Regions from separate parts of the Homo sapiens genome. Here all the other regions are linked to region 6. The links are contacts of gene promoters, found by promoter capture Hi-C in blood cells and fetal thymus (Javierre and others, 2016). All regions are on one chromosome and are shown on one strand. The core of a region is centred on a gene start or on the middle of the fragment in contact, and the rest is flanking DNA. Distances in the headings are between cores, read along the strand shown. Region 1 holds the start of GLIS2 (GLIS family zinc finger 2). Region 2 holds the start of SRL (sarcalumenin). Region 3 holds the start of TFAP4 (transcription factor AP-4). Region 4 overlaps SRL (sarcalumenin). Region 5 overlaps CLUAP1 (clusterin associated protein 1). Region 6 holds the start of CREBBP (CREB binding lysine acetyltransferase).

What was found. Contacts are between HindIII fragments. The CHiCAGO score rates a contact against its expected background, and 5 or more counts as called.
Region 1: the fragment with the promoter of GLIS2 here is called in contact with the fragment with the promoter of CREBBP in region 6 in 5 of 17 cell types (M1 macrophages, monocytes, erythroblasts and 2 more); the score reaches 6.4 in M1 macrophages.
Region 2: the fragment with the promoter of SRL here is called in contact with the fragment with the promoter of CREBBP in region 6 in 13 of 17 cell types (naive CD4 T cells, naive B cells, naive CD8 T cells and 10 more); the score reaches 8.1 in naive CD4 T cells.
Region 3: the fragment with the promoter of TFAP4 here is called in contact with the fragment with the promoter of CREBBP in region 6 in 4 of 17 cell types (naive CD8 T cells, naive B cells, total B cells and 1 more); the score reaches 7.6 in naive CD8 T cells.
Region 4: a contact is called between a fragment that was not itself captured here and the fragment with the promoter of CREBBP in region 6, in 1 of 17 cell types (endothelial precursors). The highest score is 5.5, in endothelial precursors.
Region 5: a contact is called between a fragment that was not itself captured here and the fragment with the promoter of CREBBP in region 6, in 1 of 17 cell types (endothelial precursors). The highest score is 5.5, in endothelial precursors.

What each region holds. Positions count from the first base shown.
Region 1 is chr16:4,314,275-4,317,482 of GRCh38, forward strand. It overlaps GLIS2 (GLIS family zinc finger 2), which reads left to right and starts at 1,793. Exons shown (of 7, transcript NM_032575.3): 1 at 1,793-1,980. RefSeq lists enhancers at 1-420, 421-933, 3,055-3,208 and a silencer at 334-628. The HindIII fragment of the contact is 6,668 bases long and covers 1-3,208 here.
Region 2 is chr16:4,240,798-4,243,690 of GRCh38, forward strand. It overlaps SRL (sarcalumenin), which reads right to left and starts at 1,283. Exons shown (of 6, transcript NM_001098814.2): 1 at 1,210-1,283. The coding sequence starts at 1,270. The HindIII fragment of the contact is 10,843 bases long and covers 1-2,893 here.
Region 3 is chr16:4,271,279-4,274,312 of GRCh38, forward strand. TFAP4 (transcription factor AP-4) reads right to left here and starts at 1,745. Exons shown (of 7, transcript NM_003223.3): 1 at 1,380-1,745. The coding sequence starts at 1,468. RefSeq lists enhancers at 1-938, 480-669, 1,570-1,619, 1,916-2,891 and silencers at 750-909, 1,270-1,319, 2,040-2,689. The HindIII fragment of the contact is 8,835 bases long and covers 331-3,034 here.
Region 4 is chr16:4,216,302-4,219,540 of GRCh38, forward strand. The region is part of intron 1 of SRL (sarcalumenin); the gene reads right to left. Among named protein-coding and RNA genes, the nearest start is that of SRL, 24 kb to the right of the region's middle. The HindIII fragment of the contact is 3,324 bases long and covers 1-3,003 here.
Region 5 is chr16:3,518,655-3,521,974 of GRCh38, forward strand. It overlaps CLUAP1 (clusterin associated protein 1), which reads left to right. Exons shown (of 12, transcript NM_015041.3): 7 at 1,249-1,382. Among named protein-coding and RNA genes, the nearest start is that of CLUAP1, 19 kb to the left of the region's middle. The HindIII fragment of the contact is 1,209 bases long and covers 716-1,924 here.
Region 6 is chr16:3,879,173-3,882,263 of GRCh38, forward strand. It overlaps CREBBP (CREB binding lysine acetyltransferase), which reads right to left and starts at 1,541. Exons shown (of 31, transcript NM_004380.3): 1 at 660-1,541. The coding sequence starts at 744. RefSeq lists silencers at 530-579, 660-709, 750-1,059, 1,397-1,446, 1,467-2,016 and an enhancer at 1,220-1,796. The HindIII fragment of the contact is 11,013 bases long and covers 1-3,091 here.

The sequences.
Region 1 (3,208 bases), core at 543-3,042, 440 kb after region 6:
TTCCAGGTATCAACCTACAGCTCCTGCGCACCTACTATGTGCCCATTTCCACAACAGGTCATGAGCACCTAATATGTGTTCATTAGACCAAAACATGAGCATCCATTACGAGTCCACACCTACTATGTGTGCATTCACCCACAACGTCCTGAGCACCTACTATGTGTGCATTCTCTTAAAATGCAATGAGCATCGATTGTGTGTCCACATAACCCATGAGCACCTGCTATGTGTCCATCTGGGCACCAGCCCATGAGCACCTACTATGTGTGCATTCTCTTAAAATGCAATGAGCATCGATTGTGTGTCCACATAACCCATGAGCACCTGCTATGTGTCCATCTGGGCACCAGCCCAGGAGCACCTACTATGTGCCAAGCCTTGTGCCTGCCATGGATGCCTTGTGATCAAGAGCCACGTGCTTCGGGCTCTGGCGGGGACCGCAGCATCAAATGCACGAATGAAGACGGACTTAAAACCAGCGTCAGATGCCTCACCTCTAGGGGATGCTGATTCTGGGATGCCTTTTTCGTCTCCTAGGCTCCTCAAGGCCAACTGCGCTGGGAAGAGGGGGTGTCCAACAGCAGGAGGGCTGTTTTTTTGAACTACAATTTGCCAGCATACAGCAGAGCAGCAAGAAGATAACAGGGCGGGGGGCACGGGATTAGCCCAAACAAAACACACTCAAGAACGCGAGTCTGTGGTTCAACACGAGGCAGAAAACAGCTGGGCCGGGTGCGGGGCTTCTCCCTCGCGTGTATCCGCTCACTGCACTCGCTGCCCTGGCCGCGGGCGCCGCGCAGGGTGCTGATGTCCAGGAGGGATCTAGACCTCCCGCGGCGCTCGGGCTAGTGGACGCAGGTGGTCCCAAATGCTGGGACCAAGCTAGGAACCAAGCGGAAGCTCGGATTGCTCGGCATCGGGCCTCGTCGTTATTCTACCGTGAGGGAAACTGAGACCGAGGGCACGGCAGGGAGTCGCCCGCCGTCTCACCAGCGTGAGGGGTTGCGCCGGGCCCCGAAAACTGGTTTGCGCCGCCCGGCATCGGGATCCGGGACCTCTGCCCGCCGGGCGCTGCCTGCGCGTTCCTGGAACTGGGCTGGGCGGAGAAATCAGGGCCCGCAGAGAGGCATTCCTGCCGCCTTCCCCGCCGCCCGGGGCCGCAGGGGGGCCTGGCCAAGGTGACCCCGCGGGAGGAGGCGAGGGGTCCCCGCCCGCTCCGCCGCCGCGACCTCCTCCATCTTCCCGGTCTGCGGGGCTTTTCCTCTGGGCCCGCGCGCCCGGCCCCCTCCTCGGGCTTCCCCGAGGGCGGGACGTCTCGGGCTCCCCCGCCCCCCCAGGCCACCTCCCGGCCGTGTCCTAGCGCTGCCCTCGGGCCGGGGGCGGGGCCGCGGGGGGGGGGTGGCGTGAGGATGGGGCCGAGGAGGACGCGCGCGGCTCGGCGCCCCACTTCCCTCCCTCACCCCTCCCTCCCGGTGCCCGCTCCCCGCGGCCGCGCCGCCCTCCCTTCCCCCTCCCTCGGCCCAGCGCCGGCTCCCGCCGCCCCCTCCCCCGACGCGCACGCCCCGCCTGGCAGCTGGCGCCCCGGGCCTGGGGCCGCAGCGGTGAGAGGGGTTTTGCTGGGAGGGAGGGAGCGAGCGAGCGAGGGGAGGGGTGGAGGCCGCCCCCCGCGCCCCTCCTCCTCGCCCTCCTCCGCGGCCGGCGGGCCCTCCTCCCGCCGCCTCCCTCCTCCCTCCTCCCGCCCGCCCGCCCTCCCTCTAAGACATCCCCGCACGGCCCGGCCGCCGCGGCCACCTTCCCTGCCCGAGCTGCAGATGTGGCGGAGCGGCCGGGCGCCGGGCGGCCGTGCCAGGGGAGCCCGCGCCCCGTGAGGCCTCGCGCCCCGGCCCCCGCCCGTCCCGGCCCCTCCCCCGCTCGGCTCCCCGCGCCCCCCGACCGCCGGAGCCCGCAGCCCGGATCCCGACCGCCCCCGCCGCTGAGGTAGGAAGCCCCCCGGGCGTCGCGCCGTGGGGACCGGGCCGGGGCGGGGGGGGGGGGGCCCGCCTGTCGCGCCGGGGCTGCGGGGCCCGAGGGTCTCCTCCCCCGCTCGCGTCCGCGCCCCGGGCCATTGTGAGCCCTCGCCGAGGCCCCCGCGTTCGCTCGCTCGCTGGCTCGCGCGCTCCCTCCCTCGCCGGCTCCCCGGCCGGGTCCCTCGAGCTCTCGGTCTTTCTTCTCCCTCCTTCCTTCCCTCCGTCTGGAGGCCGGGCCGAGCAGCGCCCGGGCCCGGGGCGGGCGCAAACTTCAGCTGGGAAGTTGGGCGGCCGCGGTGGGGGGCGTGCGGCGAGGTGAGAGGGGGGTACCCGGAGCCTGGGCATGAAGTTGTCCGGGGCAGCCGCCCCTCCTCTCGGCCGCGCCGGGGCTGCTGCTAGGAAGGGCTTTGGAAGGTGCCTCCTCCCTTGGCCGGGAGAGTCTCCCTCCTGCTGCCCCTCGCAAGCCCGGGTCCTTCCTTGGACCTCGGGAAGGGGCGTCCCTGGGGGGTCAGGACTGGGAGTTTGGGACAAGTCAGGCACTTGTTACTCCCCTGCGGTCCGGGTGGACGCAGGCGACCGGCCTGGCAGGGAGGAGATGGCAAGGGGTCCATACTCGCCGGAGGGCGGGTCTGGAGCGGGTGGAGGAGGGGGCGAGGCAGGTGCATCCCGAGGGAGGAGAAGCACGCACAGCTTCCCCGCTGGCCCCCTGGGATGGGGCTGGAATCCAGGCTGGCACCTGGAGGCCTTGGCATGCTGCCCTGCCCAGCAGGGTACTCGGGCCACAGCAGGGCAGCGTGCAGCCTGTCTGCCTGTCCAGGAGGGCCCGCCCAGCCTGGCCAGAGGGTGGCCGGGAAGCAATGGTTTCAAGGAGTTGCCCAGCCCTGCCCTGGGGCCTGGGAAGCTGGAAGGGATGCTGGGAGGGGCCCTGGGCCCCCAGCCATCACAGCCCAGGATCTTGGCTCTGGAGGGAACGCTTGACACTGAGGGGGCAGCCAGGCCGGCTGGGGACCTGGCCAAGGCCTGGGCTTGGTCTGGGCCATGGAAAGGGCCTGGGCCATGGTTCTTGGAGGCTGGCACCCTGGGTAGTAGGCCGCCATCCTGCGTGTCCTGGCATCCTGGAGGGAAGGTGGGGCCAGCCTGCGGCTGGGGAGGAAGCCCAGAGACACTGCGCTTCGGAGGGCCTTCCAGCCCCCGGGCTC
Region 2 (2,893 bases), core at 33-2,532, 360 kb after region 6:
CCGGATCCAATTACGCGGCTGTTTCCATACTTAGCCGCCTGACAGCCGCCTGGAATACTCAGCACTCAAGCCGCTGCAGCCCTGCAGAGCCCAAATTAACTCAAGGACAGACAAGGGCAGGGCCCAGCAGCACATGCAGTGGCTGGAGCCCCCCACCTTACATCTTGAGTCCCCGAGAAATAGCTTTTGTTCCCACCCACTGCCTGCTCTCCCTGCAGGGACTGTGCCCCTGCAACCCCCTATTCAACCTCAAAGACCTGAGAGGCTGGACTCTGGGCCTCTCCAGTCCCAGGTACGGACCTAGGCTCAGAGCCCAGCTTGGGGGAAGACTGCCGAGTCATGAAAAGACTCGGTGGGCAGTCCGGATCCTAGGGGGATCCCCGGAGCACCTCCCTAAAAGCATTCCCTCGGGGAACCTGGCCTCAGGAACCTTAGGAACAAGAGAGGTGGCAAAACAATCTGGCATCTCCTCCATAGCCTATAGATAACCCCCATGCTGCAACCCAAGCCACCACCTCTGCTACCCAAAGTGCTGAGATGTCAAAGGGAAGCCTCAGCACACAGAGCCAAGCCCCTTTTCTGATGGAAGCCCCCACCCCGAGCAGAGGCTCTACTCCAGAACGGGCCCCGTTCCTCTTCTGAATTGCATCCAATGCTGTTTCCAGCCCAACCGCCAACTCTATTTCCGATCTTATCCCAAACCAATTCCAATTCTATCTCACTGCTCCCAAAACGGTCCCCACCTTTGCCCACTGTATCCCCTTCTGTCCACGCAAACCCAGTTCTCTTACCCGAGTGGGGCCTCCGCCTTATATCCCACCAGGTGGGAGGGTCACCTCAACGACCTCCAGCTCCCAGACTGTGCTATTTTGTCCGTCTCAGAGGCTCCCCCGTCTCGACTTTGAGGGCCCTCTTTCCCACATCTACTGGCCAGACTCCTCTCTGACCCTGGCTCACAGCTCAGCTCTGTTTGCCGTTCCCACTTCCTCTGGCCTTCCTGAGGGCCCCGCAACTGTGCTGCTATTCTCCAGCACCCAGCTCTTTCTCTGAGGCCCCAGGCCCGGGGAAAAGAGAAGGGTAAGAAGACACCAGCCAAGAGCCAGGGTTTGCCATCAGCCCCGACCCCCTACCCAACCCATGGTAGACAGAAAACCTTGGAGGAAGCGTGGGGGACCAGTCTGGGCTGGGTCATGCTGGGAGGGGCCCTACCTGCTTGTCCTGAGAACAGGAGCGAGGCCAGGAGGCAGCCGAGCAGGACCAGCGCCCTCATGGTGACTGCCAAGAGAGCCCAGCTGCTCCTCGCCTCTATTTATACGGCCGGCCGTGGCAGCAGGCGGTGGAGGGGGGAGAGGGGTCACACAGTCACCAGGGCAACTAGGAGGGTGTGATGGGGAAGAAGCCCGGACCCCAGAAGGCTGTGCAGAGGCTCAGGCTGCGCCACTGCTGTCCCAGCTGCCAGGCCCCAGAAGGCAGGGCCGTGGCTGGATTCTCTTCCCCCGAACCCCTGCAGCCCTGGGATCACATGACATGGGTCACAGGGCGTGGGTGACAGGCATAAAATGGAGCATCCCTTGGGCTCAGGCGGTGGAGCTGGGAAGCTGAGTCTTCCCAGAACTTGCAATAACTTGACCTGAAGTCTCGGCAGGTTAAGGACCTTGACACGCCTGCACTGGAAGGAGGAAGTTGTAAGGCCACGCAAAAGAAATCCTATTTAACAGCCACTGATCCACATGCTAGAGAGTGGTCAGCTACGGCAAACCCGCAACATGTGACCTCTGAGGTCCAAGGCTGCAGCCCTGGAACAACCTTCCCAGCCTCTGGAAGAGAGAGAGCACAGACCAGAGGGAGAGGGGCACACTGAGACACAAGCTGAGGCTACGGTGTAAACTGGAGGATGGAGCAACAGATATCCATTTCCAATGGCCCAGGGGTTCCAGAACATTCAGTCACCTCTGCAAAGTGCTTTTTTGTTTATTTGTTTTTGATAGAGGATCTCGCTCTGTCACCCAGGCTGGACTGCAGTGGCACAATCATCACTCACTGCACTCGACCTCCCAGGCTCAATCAATCCTCCCAACTCAGCCTCCCAAGTAGCTAGGACAGTAGTGCCACCATGCTGTACTAATTTTTTAAAATTTTTTGTAGATGGCCCAGAGAGCCAGTTGTAAGAAGCCAAGGGAAAGCAGACACTTGCTTGTCTGGTCGGGGTACAGTGTCACTGTGTGGGGAAGAGGTAGAAGCCAGCCTTGGAGGAAAGGAACTAAATCAGGGCCAGGCACAGTGGCTCACACCTGTAATCCCAGCACTTTGGGAGGCCGAGGCGGGTGGATCACCTGAGGTCAGGAGATTGAGACCAGCCTGGCCAACATGGTGAAACCCCATCTCCACTAAAAATACAAAAATTACTGGGTGTGGTGGCGGGTGCCTATAATCCCAGCTCCTCAGGAGGCTGAGGCAGGAGAATCACTTGATCCCAGGAGGCGAAGGTTGCCATGAGCCAAGATTGCACCACTGACTCTAGCCTGGGCAACAGAGCGAGACTCTGTCTCAAAAAAAAAAAAAAAAAAAAAAAGAATTAGGCATCTGGTAGGCACTTGACTTTTTTTTTTTTTTTAATCTTTTTTAAGAGACAGGGTCTCTGTCACCCTGGCTGGAGTAGTGACACGATCATAGCTCACTGCAGCCTTGAACTCCTGGGCTCAAGCCACCCTCTCACCTCAACCTCCGAGGGGCTGGGAATACAGGTGTGCACCACATCTGGCTAATTTTTTTGTTTTTTGCAAACATGGTCTTCCTATGTCACTCGGGCTGGTCTCCAACTCCTGGGCTCAAGCAATCTTCCTGTCTCGACCTCCCAAAGCACTACGATTACAGGCATGAGCTACTGCTTTTT
Region 3 (3,034 bases), core at 495-2,994, 390 kb after region 6:
TCCACCAGCCTGTGCCACACCGGCGGGCTCCTCCTCCCTCAATCCCCGCCCAGACTGCCTCGGGCGGCAGAGCACGTGGCTCCAGCCCTGGGGAGCCATTTCGCTCCTGGAGCAGCGCGGCAGGAAAGGGGCCACAGGTCCCAAACTTGCGCACGCCGTAGAACGCCCACCTCCCCCACACCACGCCCAGGGGGTCGTTCAAAATGCAGATGTCCGGGCCCCAGCGATCAGAGTTCCAGGCATGTGCATTTTAAGAAGTGTGCGGGGTGGTTTGGCTGTGTGTGGTCCTTGAGTCCATCACCCTTTGGGTTTAGAGCAACCTAGGACCAAAGCTTGCAAAGTGGCTTCTGGGGAGGCCTGCGGACCTCGGGCCACCCACCCGGCTGGGGGACCCGACGCTTTCGGTTTACGGCAGGGGGGAGGGGCGTTGGATGGGAAAGTTTGCAGAGGAAACCCACGTGCGGCGGGAAGCTGCCCTGCGAGGCTAGGGGCGGCCTCAGGTGTCCCTTCCCCAAATGGCCTGCCCACCTGGCCTGCCTTGCCCATCGTGCCCGCGGGGGCCGAGCTTTGTGCAGGGAAAGCGTGGCCCAGGAGCGCCTACAAATCCCACAATGCTGCACCAGCAGGACACGGAGAACTACAGCTCCCGCGAGGCCGCGCGCAGAGGTCCGCCTACTCCAAGAGGGCTGCAGAGTCACGTCCAGGCCTCGCTAGTAAACAGCGCCCGGGCGCGGGCGGGCGAGCGAGCGGCAGCCAACGTGCCCCGGGCCGCGGCGCCCCTACCGGCCGCGCGGGCCCCTCGGGGTCCGCCCACCCCCAACACCCACACGCGAGCACGCCCCCGACCCCGCTGCAGCCCCGCTCTGCAAACACGCACAGTGCCCGGCTCCCCGCCCCCACCCCGCGCCGGGAGCCGCGGCATGGCTGCATTGTAGCCGCCCTAGCTACACCCCCACGCGCGCCCCGGGCCCCCAGACCCCCTTGGATGGGGACGACCTCAGATCCCGAGGAAGGAAGGAGAGGAAGGAAGCCGCCGCAGGAGGGGGAAAGAGGAAGCGCGGGGGGGAAGGCCACCAGCACCAAGCATGGCCGGGACTGCTGCAGAACCACGTGGGTCTGTTTGCAATTTACAAACGTCGCGACTCGCCCGCCTGCAGCGGACAAAAGTGGCCGGGGCCGCTTGGGGCCCCCATGCTCCAAGGAAGGAGGGTCCCGGGGCGGCGCGGACCCGGCGTGTGGGGCTGCAGCCGTCCCGGCAGCTAAGAAAGGCTAGCGGGGTCGGCGGCGCGGGCCATGCGTGCGCACACGCGCGCCCGCCCGGGCGGGCTGGCCGGGGGCTGCAGTGGTAGGAAGGGGGTGGGGGGAGGAGGAGTACACACCTACAGAGCCCTCCTATCACTTCTTTCTCTGTTTTCCTGAAATGTTGCAAAGAGGGCACCTTCTGAGTGGGCACCATGAAATACTCCATAGCGATCGGCCCCCCTCCTCTGCACGAGCCAGGTCCCGCGATCAGCCGGAGAATGCAAGATGGAAATCCGAATCAAAGGGCAGCGCCGGACGGAGGTGCAGAATCGGCCGGTCCCAGATGCTGGCGGCGGCGGCGGCGGCGAGGGGAGGGAGGCGGGCGGGAGGGGCGGGAGGGAGGTCTCTCCGGCCTGCCTCCCCGGGCGTGTGTATGTGTGTGTGTGTGTGTGTGTGTGTGTGTGTGTGTGTGTGTGTGTGTGTTTGCAGCTGATCAGATGTCTGTTTCAAGGCGGGAAACAGCTGGTGAAAACTCAGCACTCCCCCGGCCTCCTTCCGCGGAGTAAGGAATTGCATGTAAACAAAGGACTATTTGCAGCGCCCCCCGGGCGGCGCGAGGCCGGGGCGAGAGGGGCGCGGGCCCCCGGGGACCGGCTGCAACCGGGGTCTGCAGGCCTCTCGCGGGGCGCAGGGGGCCGGGGGCCGCGGGCGGGCTTGCGGGGCGCGGCGTGAATGGAGCGAGCTGCGGCCGAGCTACATGCGCCACTATGGGTGATGAGGTCCATCAGCTGACAGGTTGGCAAGCGTTGCAAAAAAAAAAAAAAAAAGGCCAGCCACCGCGCAGGGAGCCCAGCCCGTGCAGCCCGGAGTCCAGCAGCGACTGGCCCAGAGCAGGGTCCGCGCGCTCGGCCGGCCCGCAGGGAGGAGGGGGCGCGGCTGGGTCGGGCGTGCAGCGGCAGCAAGGAAGGCGGCCTGGGGTTCGCGCTTGGGGCTTCTGCTTTTTCACCATTGCAGCTGCACGGAGCGGAGCCTCTCCGGTGTGCTCCCTTCGAGCCGAGCCCAGGGCCCCCTGGAAACTTGCGTCACAGCCACCGCTTCCCACATGTAACTCGGGGCTGACTTCGGAGGCCGGCCAGCTTCCTCCCTCCCGCCTTGCTTAGCTGGCCGCACGGCCGGGACTCCGGATCCTGGGAATCTTGGACCCGGCGACGGGACGGCAAAGGGCGCCTCGGATGCTGGGGCCGCCCTAGGAAGCCGGGGGCCCCGGCAGGGAGGGGAGGGTGGAGGCGGGCCTGAACGGCAGCGGCCCCCGGGCGCAGGCTGCCAGCGCTGCGGGGAGGTCTGCTGGTTGCTGCCGGGTCCCCTGCTATTCCCCCAGACCCGCACTGTTCCCTCCGCGGGCTGAAGGCTGCAGCTTCCCATTCATAACAAAGCCCGTGTGGGACTTGCCCCTCCGCCAGGATGCGCTCCCCAAGAGGGGGTGACGACTTGGGGCAGGGACGGGGACCCTGGCGGCGAGCTTCCGTCCTCCGCTCGCACGCCGCACCTTCCGGCCCCAGGCCCTCCCCTGGCTCCTGGAGGGTTGGCTCCTGGCTCAGGAAGCCCACGCCTGCCTTGGAATGTCCTGGATCCTGCCCACCGCCTTCCAGGTTCCGCCTAAATCGCGCCTCCTAATTTGACTTATTCCTACTAGTAACAATAGTTACTGTTATTATTGGGAAATATTGTTATTAGATGTTGCCAGCACCCGGTGGATGCCGAGCAGTTTTGCTTACACGCTCTCCAATCCTTG
Region 4 (3,239 bases), core at 92-2,591, 340 kb after region 6:
ATCTCTGTCACTCAGGCTGGAGTACAGTGGTACAATCTCAGCTCACTGCAACCTCTGCCTCCTAGATTCAAGCGATTCTCCTGCCTCAGCCTCCTGAGTAGCCGGGACCACAAGTGCACGCAACCACACTCGGCTAATTTTTGTATTTTTTGTAGAGATGGGGTTTCACCACGTTTGCCAGGCTGGTCTCAAACTCTGGACCTCAAGTGATCCACCCGCCTCAAGTTCCCAAAGTGCTGGGATTATAGGCATGAGCCACGATGCCCAGCCACTATTCACTTTAAAAAGACAAATACCTCAGAAAGAGCAAAACATTATATCCTAACCCCTCAGTATGAGTCAATCACTAGCAGGGATACTCTATAGAGCACTCAGTTTTTCCAGAGATCAGCCGTGCCTGCAGTGAACAGAAATCCTTGCAGAAGGCCTTGGGCCTGCTGCCTCCCTTCAGAGGGGCCGAGCTGGGGAGGAAAGGGAAAGGAAGGGGAAAGGGATGCAGGCTGGGTTCTGAGACAGACCAAGGCAGGTGGCTGGCTTCCCCCCACATCCCAGTCCGAAGAAATCCAATCTCCCTGGGATCTGTGGGGATGAGGTGCTGGTCTAACTTTTGGGCCCCAGACAGGAAAAGACTTACTGGAAGCCAAGGGAGCGTGGCTCCCGCAGGTCTCAGTCTAACAGCTATCCTGGGTTAAAGTCAGAGCCATCTCCAGCTTGGCAGGTGAAGGGGTCAAGGAATCTGGGCCCACCCCATCCCCAATCCAGGGAAGCTGGAGGGAATCTTCTTGAGAAACGTGGGAGCTTGGGAAATGGGTGTGACACCTTCCCTAGCCTGAGCCAGGCCCACGGCTATGCCTTTTCTTTCTTCCTGGGGCTGAGGCTCCAGCCTCCTAGATAGTGGCTGGTCTCTCTGAATGCACCTGGAAGTCAGGAAAGCTGGGTTCTGCCCCTTACTCTTTTTCTTTTTTTACAGACCCTGTCCCTTAGAGACAGGGTCTTGCTCTGTCACCTGGACTGGAGTGCAGCAGTGTGACGAAAGCTCACTGCAGCCTTCCTACTTGTCACACTTCAGCCTCCAGAGTAGCTGGGACTACAGGCACGCGCCACCATGCCTGGCTAATTGTTTTATTTTTTGTAAAGACAGGGTCTCACTATGTTGCCCAGGCTGGTCTCAAACTTCTGGGCTCAAGCGATCCTCCAGCCTTAGCGTCTCAAAGTGCTGGGATTACAGGCGTGAGCCACTGGCCCCTCCCCTGCTGTCTTACCACTGGCGCCCCCACCCCCCGCTGTCTTACTACCCAGCGAAGTAACCTTGGGTTGCTCCTTACTCCCTCTGCACACAACTTTATTCGCCCATAAAATGTAGATAACAATACCTGCTTTGCCAGCCCCATCAGAGCGTTTTAAACATCAGGTGGTGCTCAGAAGCATTTCAATAAATGTCAGCTATGAGCATCATTCTTTCCTAGAAGAGCAAAGACACCAGGCCAAATCCCAAATTTGCTGAGTGGGCCACAGCAGAGCCAGCTTCGGACAGGAGCCGAGCCAGCTGGCCCTTCACGCTGTTCCTTTAGCCCTCCGGGTCTGGGGGCTCAGTCAGGGGGCCCGGAGCCATCCATCCTTCTGCCAGGGACTCCTCCTCCCTGGCTGCCAGCCAGAGGCAGCTCAGGCGAGGAGCTGCAGGGTGCCTGGGGGTGAGCCCTGCGCTCTTGGTGAAGTTCTGGCTGGTCTGGGAACGGAGCAGGCTGAGCTGTCAACACTCCCAGGGGCCAGGAGCTCGTTCTGCTGATCCCAAAGTTAACCCCTGCAGTCCCTGACTCCAGCCTCAGTCAGCCCTGATTCACCAGCAACATCTGAGGCCACATGTGGCCTCCCCTTTCCCCACCACGTCCCATCCCTTCTGTCCAGTCACTGAAGTGAGGTGACCCCGCACTTCACCCCAACGCAAACGCGCACTCAGGAAGTTTAAACAGACCCATTCTAAGGGCCACGTCTTTCTGAGAATGGGAGGGAAGCCCTTTCCGAAGGCAGAGGACCGGTAAGGGCCCTTCAAAGCTCTCTGAAACAGCAACACGGTCGGAGGGAGGTCATTAGCAGTGCTGTGTGGCTTCCTCATCCTCATGGTAAGTGAGCACTGGGAGTAAGACAATCAGCCCTTCAGAAACCACTCGGGCCTGGAGAACGCAGCCAGGGCTGAGCCACAGAGATGGGGCAGGAGCAGTTCTGGCCTCCAATATACAGCGGCGCTTTGCTCCTCTCGCACAAGTGAAATCACAGCTGATGTCTCCATGGCTTTGAAGAGCCTCACACACAGGCCCGCTGGACCACGTGGGCCCTGCTCCTCCATCACCAGCAGCTCTGTCCCCATTAGCAGAGCAGGTGAGAGGAAATGCCACACCCAGAGTGCCAGACAACAGGGCGCACAGCCCCCAACCTGCTCAGCCGGGGAGGTGTCCTCAGCCATCTCTCCTACAACTGCCAGGAAGACCACAGAAGCCGGCGGTTCCCAAGTCTACGCAGAGTTAGTTAAGGAGGAAGGCCAGGCCTCTGGCAGAGCTAGGGCAGCAAGAATACACAAATGTCCTGCCCATGTGCCCCAGCTCATAGACCTCTCTGGAAAAACTTCTGCCTAGACACCAAAAGGCCAGATTTTTCAACCTTCTTTCCCAGAGGGTGTCACCGAATCCATGACAGATGGGCCCCACCGCCAGGTCCTGGCATTCATGGCCCCAGGTCTCATCTTATTTATCCTTATGGTTATTTTTGCATTCAAGGCTCTAGAATCAGAAAGAAACTTAGAAAGTAACTAGCCCAACTCTTTAGCCCAACTCTTTCTTTTCACAGAGGAGGAAACCAATGCCCAGAGAGGAAAAAGGAGCTTGCCAGAAGTCGCCAGTGCACTGGGACAAAGCTAGAACTAGAGACAAGGTCTCCTGACCCCGCAGCCGTAGTCTTCCCATAGGGGGCCCAGACAAATACAACTTCCCCTTCTCCCAGACGTTTCTAAGCTTTGGATGCTCACATCCTGCCCTGTCCCTGGGAGCTGGGGCCCCTGGATTGCTCATCTGTCCCCCTATTGTTCCTACAAAGGACAGCCCCTTGGTGAGTCTCAGAGGGCTGTGTCGGGGCAGCCACAGTAGTGTCAGGCTGGCGCCCTGAGCACAGCTTTTTTTTTGAGACAGTCTCGCTCTATCACCCAGGCTGGAGTGCAGTAGCGCGATATCGGCTCACTGCAACGTCCA
Region 5 (3,320 bases), core at 70-2,569, 360 kb before region 6:
TGAACTCGCATTTCTCCTGGGGGCTCTAAGGCACTTGCAGCAAATCGATGATAAGGGTCTGATTATTTTCATGAAAGTATCTTAGAAGTGGCTAGTGTACTTAGACCAAAAAAATTAGACCATAAACGCATTGTCAGTAACAGTGGCTGGTTCCAAAACACACCATGCCTGAGAGTTGTGGAGAGTGTCTGGGCTTCGTAGGCCATTTCTCTGTGGAGCCCATAGCTTTTCAGAGACTTGCAGGAAAACAGAGTAACCCCTTCGTGGGATGCTACACATAGGCAAAGAGCTGGAGGGGAAGCCCCACCTTGGCCACCAGGAACTTAATGCAGGGCTGGAAAGCCAGAACCCTGGGGGGCAGTTCCACGCTCAGCTGGGTGGCAGTCCAGATTCCTCATAAAGAGATTGGAGCCTGAACCCCAGGCATGTGATCCAGCCAGCCACCGGACAAGACGCATGTGAAGACGGCGCACTACCAGTGACTCTACCTGCTTCAAATGAACCTTCTCTTAGGATAGGGAGACTTGTGTCACCGTCAGTGGGCCCGTGTCCCCCTTCCCTTCTTTACTCAGCCTCTGTTGCCCAAGGGCCTCTGTCCAACTGTTGCCCTGGACCCCTTCCAGAGCTGGTGCACACCAGTGTGGCCATTGCCACTGTGGGAACTGCTTTCGTACTGTCTTCAGAGTGGTTTCTCCTCGTTTTTAGTCTGTAGTCAAGCTTCTGTTGCCAGGGAGAGGGAAGAGGACCTTCTCTCAATCCCAGCAGGCAGTGGGTTAGGGCTGGGACCAGCTGTTTCTTTCTCTCCCCTCCTAGTAGAGCAGTACTTGGTGTGTGTGGGTATTCTGTAAGTCGGGTGTTTGTAACTAGGGGCATGGCCCGAATGATAAAAAGGCAGACTGACCGTCCAGAGTGATGTGCACCTTGTTCTAACCGAGTGAGCCAGAGAAAAGACTGCAGGCCTCTCCACCTTGACCAGGACACTCTTCTTTGCATCTTCACTTCTTTCCCTGGGTAGAAATGCCTGCTTTTCATGGGGAAAAAAAAAGAGATACCTTTTTCTGGACCTGTGTGACATTCTCCCTGGAACTAGTGGGTTAAGTGAGTCATTGCTTGGGGAAGTGTCTATTTGTTTGCTTTTGTGTTTGTTGAGCATAATGTTGCTATGCCTGAAGAGTTGCAAAATTCTTCTAAGAATTAGGATGGCTGTTTTTATTGCCACCTTGTCTCATTATTTCCCATTAAATATAGACACAGGTTCAGAAGACTAAAGACCTGCTCAATAATGTGGCCTCTGATGAAGCTAATTTAGAAGCCAAAATCGAAAAGAGAAAATTAGAACTGGAAAGAAATCGGAAGCGACTAGAGACTCTGCAGAGTGTCAGGTAGATATGAACACTTGGAGAATGAGTAGAAAGATGTCCTGGAAAGTTCAAACAAACTGGGCGTGGTGGCTCATGTCTGAAATCTCAGCTACTCATGAAGCTGGGGCGGGGGGTTCTCTTGAGCCCAGGAGTTTGAGACCAGCCTGGGCAGCATAATGAAACCCCATCTCTAAAAATTTTTAAAAATTACCTCAGTATGGTGATACACACCTGTAGTCCCAGCTACTTGGGAGGCTGAGGCGGGAGGATTGCTTGAGCCCAGGAGGTTGAGGCTGCAGTGAGCTATGGTTGCATCACTGCACTCCAGCCTGAGCCACAGAACAAGGCCGAGTAACAGAACAAGGCCCTGACTCTAAAAGAAAAAAAAAGTTAGAACAAAGACTTAAGAGAATAGAATGTGATCTTAACTCTTCTCAAGCAATGAAAAAAAGCCTTACATAAGGGTATCTTCACCTCAAATGTACATGTGTTGCCTGTCATAACAAGCAGATGGCTAAACTCATTCTCTTTACTGCTTGCGGTATGTCTGGAAAACTGCTTAAAGCTTGAACTGCCCTTTAAGCTTTTATAGCTTCTTGGAACTCAAGGCAGAGTAAGTGAATCCAGACGGGGAAATCCAGACGTGGTCTCCTAAGATCTTGCCATAAATTAGGTAGAAACAGAAACATACTCCTGCCTGTTTGTTGGCATAGATTTTAGACTTTATTTAAACCTTGATCATTCCTCACCAGTCAGTAATTCATCTTTCTTCCTACGTTACCTCATTGGAAATATATTTCCCAGGAATACCGATGGAGAATAGTGGTGCCGGCTCTCTCTCTCTTCTCTTCCTCGTTCTGTGCCTCTTTCCCTCCCCCATGCTTCTGCTCTTTCTCCCTTTTCATTCACCCTTTATTTTTCTTTCTTCTTGGCTCCCTCCTCTTCCCAGCTGCCTACTCTGCTCGGATGTTTTGCCTTTTTGGATGTTGGTGGCTGGCTACACCCTGCCCACTGTCCCGAGGTCTGTGGGGAGGCAGCACCTGGAGGCAGCGACAGCAACCACAGGGAGCGCCCTGGCTCCTCCCTGCCCAGCGCAAGGCCAAGGCCCTTCCCCTCCTGAAACTGGCTCTTTACCTCTGGAGCCTCAGAGAGGGAAAAAAAAAAAAACAGAAGTCATTGCCGCCATATAGATTGATCTCCTTGACACATTCCACTTTTAAAGCATCAATTCATTTTTGTTAAGCTCCAAATCATTTTAACAGAAAAGTCTCTTTGTTTTGCTCTAGTTCAAAAGATTATAATTATTTCTGAGTTTATCTGCTTATATTTTTAAAAGAGTAGAATTTTCCCTTTAAGGTCAATAATAAGAAAAAAGAAAAAGTTCAGCAAACCAGTATAGATTTTTATGGTTTTTTTTGTTTTTGTTTTTTTTTTTTGAGTTGGAGTTTCGCTCTTGTTGCCGAGGCTGGAGTGCAATGGCGCGATCCCGGCTCACTGCAAACTCTGCCTCCCGGATTCAAGCGATTCTCCTGCCTCAGCCTCTCAAGTAGCTGGGATTACAGGCGGCCGCCACCACGCCCAGCTAATTTTTGTATTTTTAGTAGAGACGGAGTTTCACCATGTTGGCCAGGCTGGTCTTGAACTCCTGACCTTGTGATCCACCTGCCTTGGCCTCCCAAAGTGCTGGGATTACAGGCATGAGTCATCATCACGCCTGGCCTTTTTAAAAAATTTTTTATCGTTTAAAAACCTCTTTAGACTGGGCACAGTGATTCACGTCTATAATCCCAGCACTTTGAGAGGCCAAGGCGGGCAGATCGCTTGAACTCAGGGGTTCAAGACCAGCCTGGGCAATATGGCGAAACCCCATCTCTACAAAAAAAAAATATAAAAAATAGCTGGGCATAGTGGCACATGTCTGTAGTCCCAGCTACTTGGGGGCCTGAGACAGGAGGATCA
Region 6 (3,091 bases), core at 291-2,790:
TGCTAACGAAGTTTGGGTTTTGAAAAATGGAATGACTAGTTGACTAAAAACACACACGCGCGCACACACACACACACACACACACACACAAAACAAGGAGTTTTGAAAATAAGCACTAAGCATCTTTCCAAGGAACTCACTCATTCCAAGAAACTTCGGTTCTAACTCGCAAGCTGGCGGCTGCTGTGAGTGTCCTCTGAATGCAGCCTGGTCAATGTGTCGCCAATCCAGAAAACACACTGCCCTACCTTTGGCCGCGATCTTGCTTTCTCTAAGCATCAAAGGTACCCTCCGCTGTCATTCCTCTGGACGGCCACGCGTGTGGACACGGCCGCGGATGGATGCGTAGGACATTACCAAACAAACCCACACGCTGCACTTTACTTCTTCCCTCCTGGAGTGCCACTAGGGTCCCCGCGAGGAGGGCTGATCGGGTGCGGGGAGGCCGAGTGCACCGGGCGTGTGCTGACCAACTCGGGCCCAGTGACAGTCCTGCGACGAACTTCCACCCTCCCGCGCGGGGCGAGGGGAACGGGCTGCGGGGCCTGCTCCGAGCTCCCGGCTCGATCGGTATCCGCGACCACGACCCCCGGACGCTCTCTTTCAGGTGGGGGTGACAGCGCGCCCCGGGCCCCCGCCGCCCCGGACCCCCTCCTCACCTGTGCTGTCATTCGCCGAGAAACCGGGCGAGCTGAGTTTGGCTCTTTTGGGGTTGGGCGGTCCGTCCAGCAAGTTCTCAGCCATTTTCACCTGCTCGCGAAAACAGCCCCGGGCACGGGCGGCCGGGCCGGCGAGGGCCCGGACGGGGGTCGGGGGCCCTGCCGGCTGCGAGGGAGAGGAGCGAGCGCGGGCCGCGAGCGGGCGGGCGGGCGCCGAGGGAGAGGGAGGGCGCAGGCCGGGTGGGGGAGGCGGCGGCCAAATCTCAGCCACAGCAACAGCGCCCCGCAGCGCTCACCGCCCGCCCCCGGCCGCCGCCGCCGCCGCCGGCCGCGGCCCCCTCATCCCCTGCCCGCCTCCCGAGCGCGACACTCCGCGGTGGGGGCGCCCCGGCGGCCCGGCCGCCCCCCCGGGCCCGGCTGGCAGCGACGGCGCCCGGCCGGGCGGCTCAGGCAGTCCCCGAGAACATGGTGCCGCCGCCGCCGCCGCCTCGCTCCCCCCCCGCGCCCCACTTAATGAATTCGCTCGCGGCCCGACGACGAGGGGGCTCCGGGCTCCGCTCCCGGCCCGCGGCCCGCCGCCGCCGCCGCCGTGAGGAAAAACAATGCGCCGAGCGGGGTCGCCGCCGCCGCCGCGGCCCCCCCACCCCCCGTTCCGCCGCCGCCGCCGCCGCTGCCGCCGCCGCCGCCGCCGGGCTCCGGGAGGCCGAGCCGAGAGGCGAGCGGGGCCGCCGGGGCGGGCGCCGAGGGCCGGGCGGAGCGGGCCGGCCGGGCGGAGCGGGGTGCGCGGGCGGTTGTGGGGCCCGGGACCGGCGGGGCCGAGTAGATCGCGCTCGAAGCCCCGGTCGGGTCCGCGACAAGATGGCGGCTGTTGATTCCTCAATTAAAAAAAAAAGAAAGTTTTTTTTCTTCTCTTTCCAGAGCCTGAACGGGGAGGGGGTGGGGGCGGGGCACGCCGGTGCGTCACCCCCCCGCGGCGTCACCACGCACGGCCCCCGCCCCGCCCCCTCCACCTGCGCCGGCCGTGGCGGAAAGAGCCGAGCGTGCTCGGGCCGAAGGGCTGAAGGCGCGGCCGCCAAGCGTAGGGAAGCTGGCGGCCCGGCGCGGGCCAGGCCTGCGGGGCGCCTGGGCTCCGGGCTGAGCCACAGCTTTTGTTCTGATGGCGACCAGGCGTAGAGGGCCGGGGCTCCGGGCCCCAGCGGGCTCCGGGAGCGGCGGCCTGGCCGCGGGCTGGGCTCTCGGGCGCGGATTCGACGCCAGCCCGGGCCCGCCCGTCCCGCTGGGGCGGCGCTGCGTGTTCCCAGCTCCTCGCGTCCCCTTCCCCAGACCCTCCTAGGTGGCGTCGGTCGGGAACGGTCGGGGCGACCCCAGCCCAGGCCGCGCCACTAGCCTTCGCCGCCGGCCAGGGAAGTGGAATGGCCTCTGCAGGTTACAGACCGCCCTTGGGTCCTGCCGACGAGGTGGGCGGATGGGGAAACTGAGGCGGGGGGCGAGCAACTGCTCCAAAGTGGTCGAGGCAGGAAGTGGCAGGGCCGGGATTCGGGTCCCGCCCTACCTCGTGACACTAGGGAGTGAGGGGGCCTCACGCCTGTTCGCATCCCAAGGCGGCAGGGCAGACACCCTCACCTGTGAGAGCGGGGTGGCGAGGGCCGGCCTGGGCGGAGAAGGGCCCGCGCATCGGGGCTTAAGCCTGGACGCTCAGGCCGCACTCCCCGCCCCAGGCAACTTGCCTGGCGCCTCGCAGGTGCCCCAGACAGGGGTGCGGGCCTGGGGAGTCCCCCACGCGAGACCACAGCCCGCGGGACACTTCTACGAATACCCGAGGTGTTCCCATCCCAGTTAGTTATCTGCCCCTCCAAACTTGCCCGGCTTCCTCATAAAGGTATCAGCAGCTCCACTGTTTCCTAAGCCAGAAACCCGTGAGTCAGCGCGGACTCCTCCCTCTCACCCGCCACGCGCCCCTCTACCCACGGTCTTTACCTGGGAGACTGCTCCTCCCGCACTGTCCCGGTGGCTATGGTGGCAGCTACTCACTTAAGTGTTCTTTGCTCTCCACGTTGCTCCCCACGCAGCACCAGAGTTAACATCCCGAAAAGAGAGGGAGAAAATCTGTTTAAAACAACTCCCTGGCCAGGCGCGGTGGCAGATCACCTGAGGTCAGGAGTTCAAGACCAGCCTGGCCAACATGGTGAAACCCCATCTCTACCAAAAATACAAACATTAGCTGGGCGTGGCGGCGTGCGCCTGTAATCCCAGCTACTCGGGAGGCTGAGATGCGAGAATCACTTGAACTGGGGAGGCCAGTAAGCCGGGATCTCGCCATTGCACTCCATCCTGGGCGACAAGAGTGAAACTCCGTCTCAAAAACAAAACAAAACAAAACAAAATCCCAGACATAGAAAAAGAAAACACTACATAGTCTTTCTTTAAAAAAG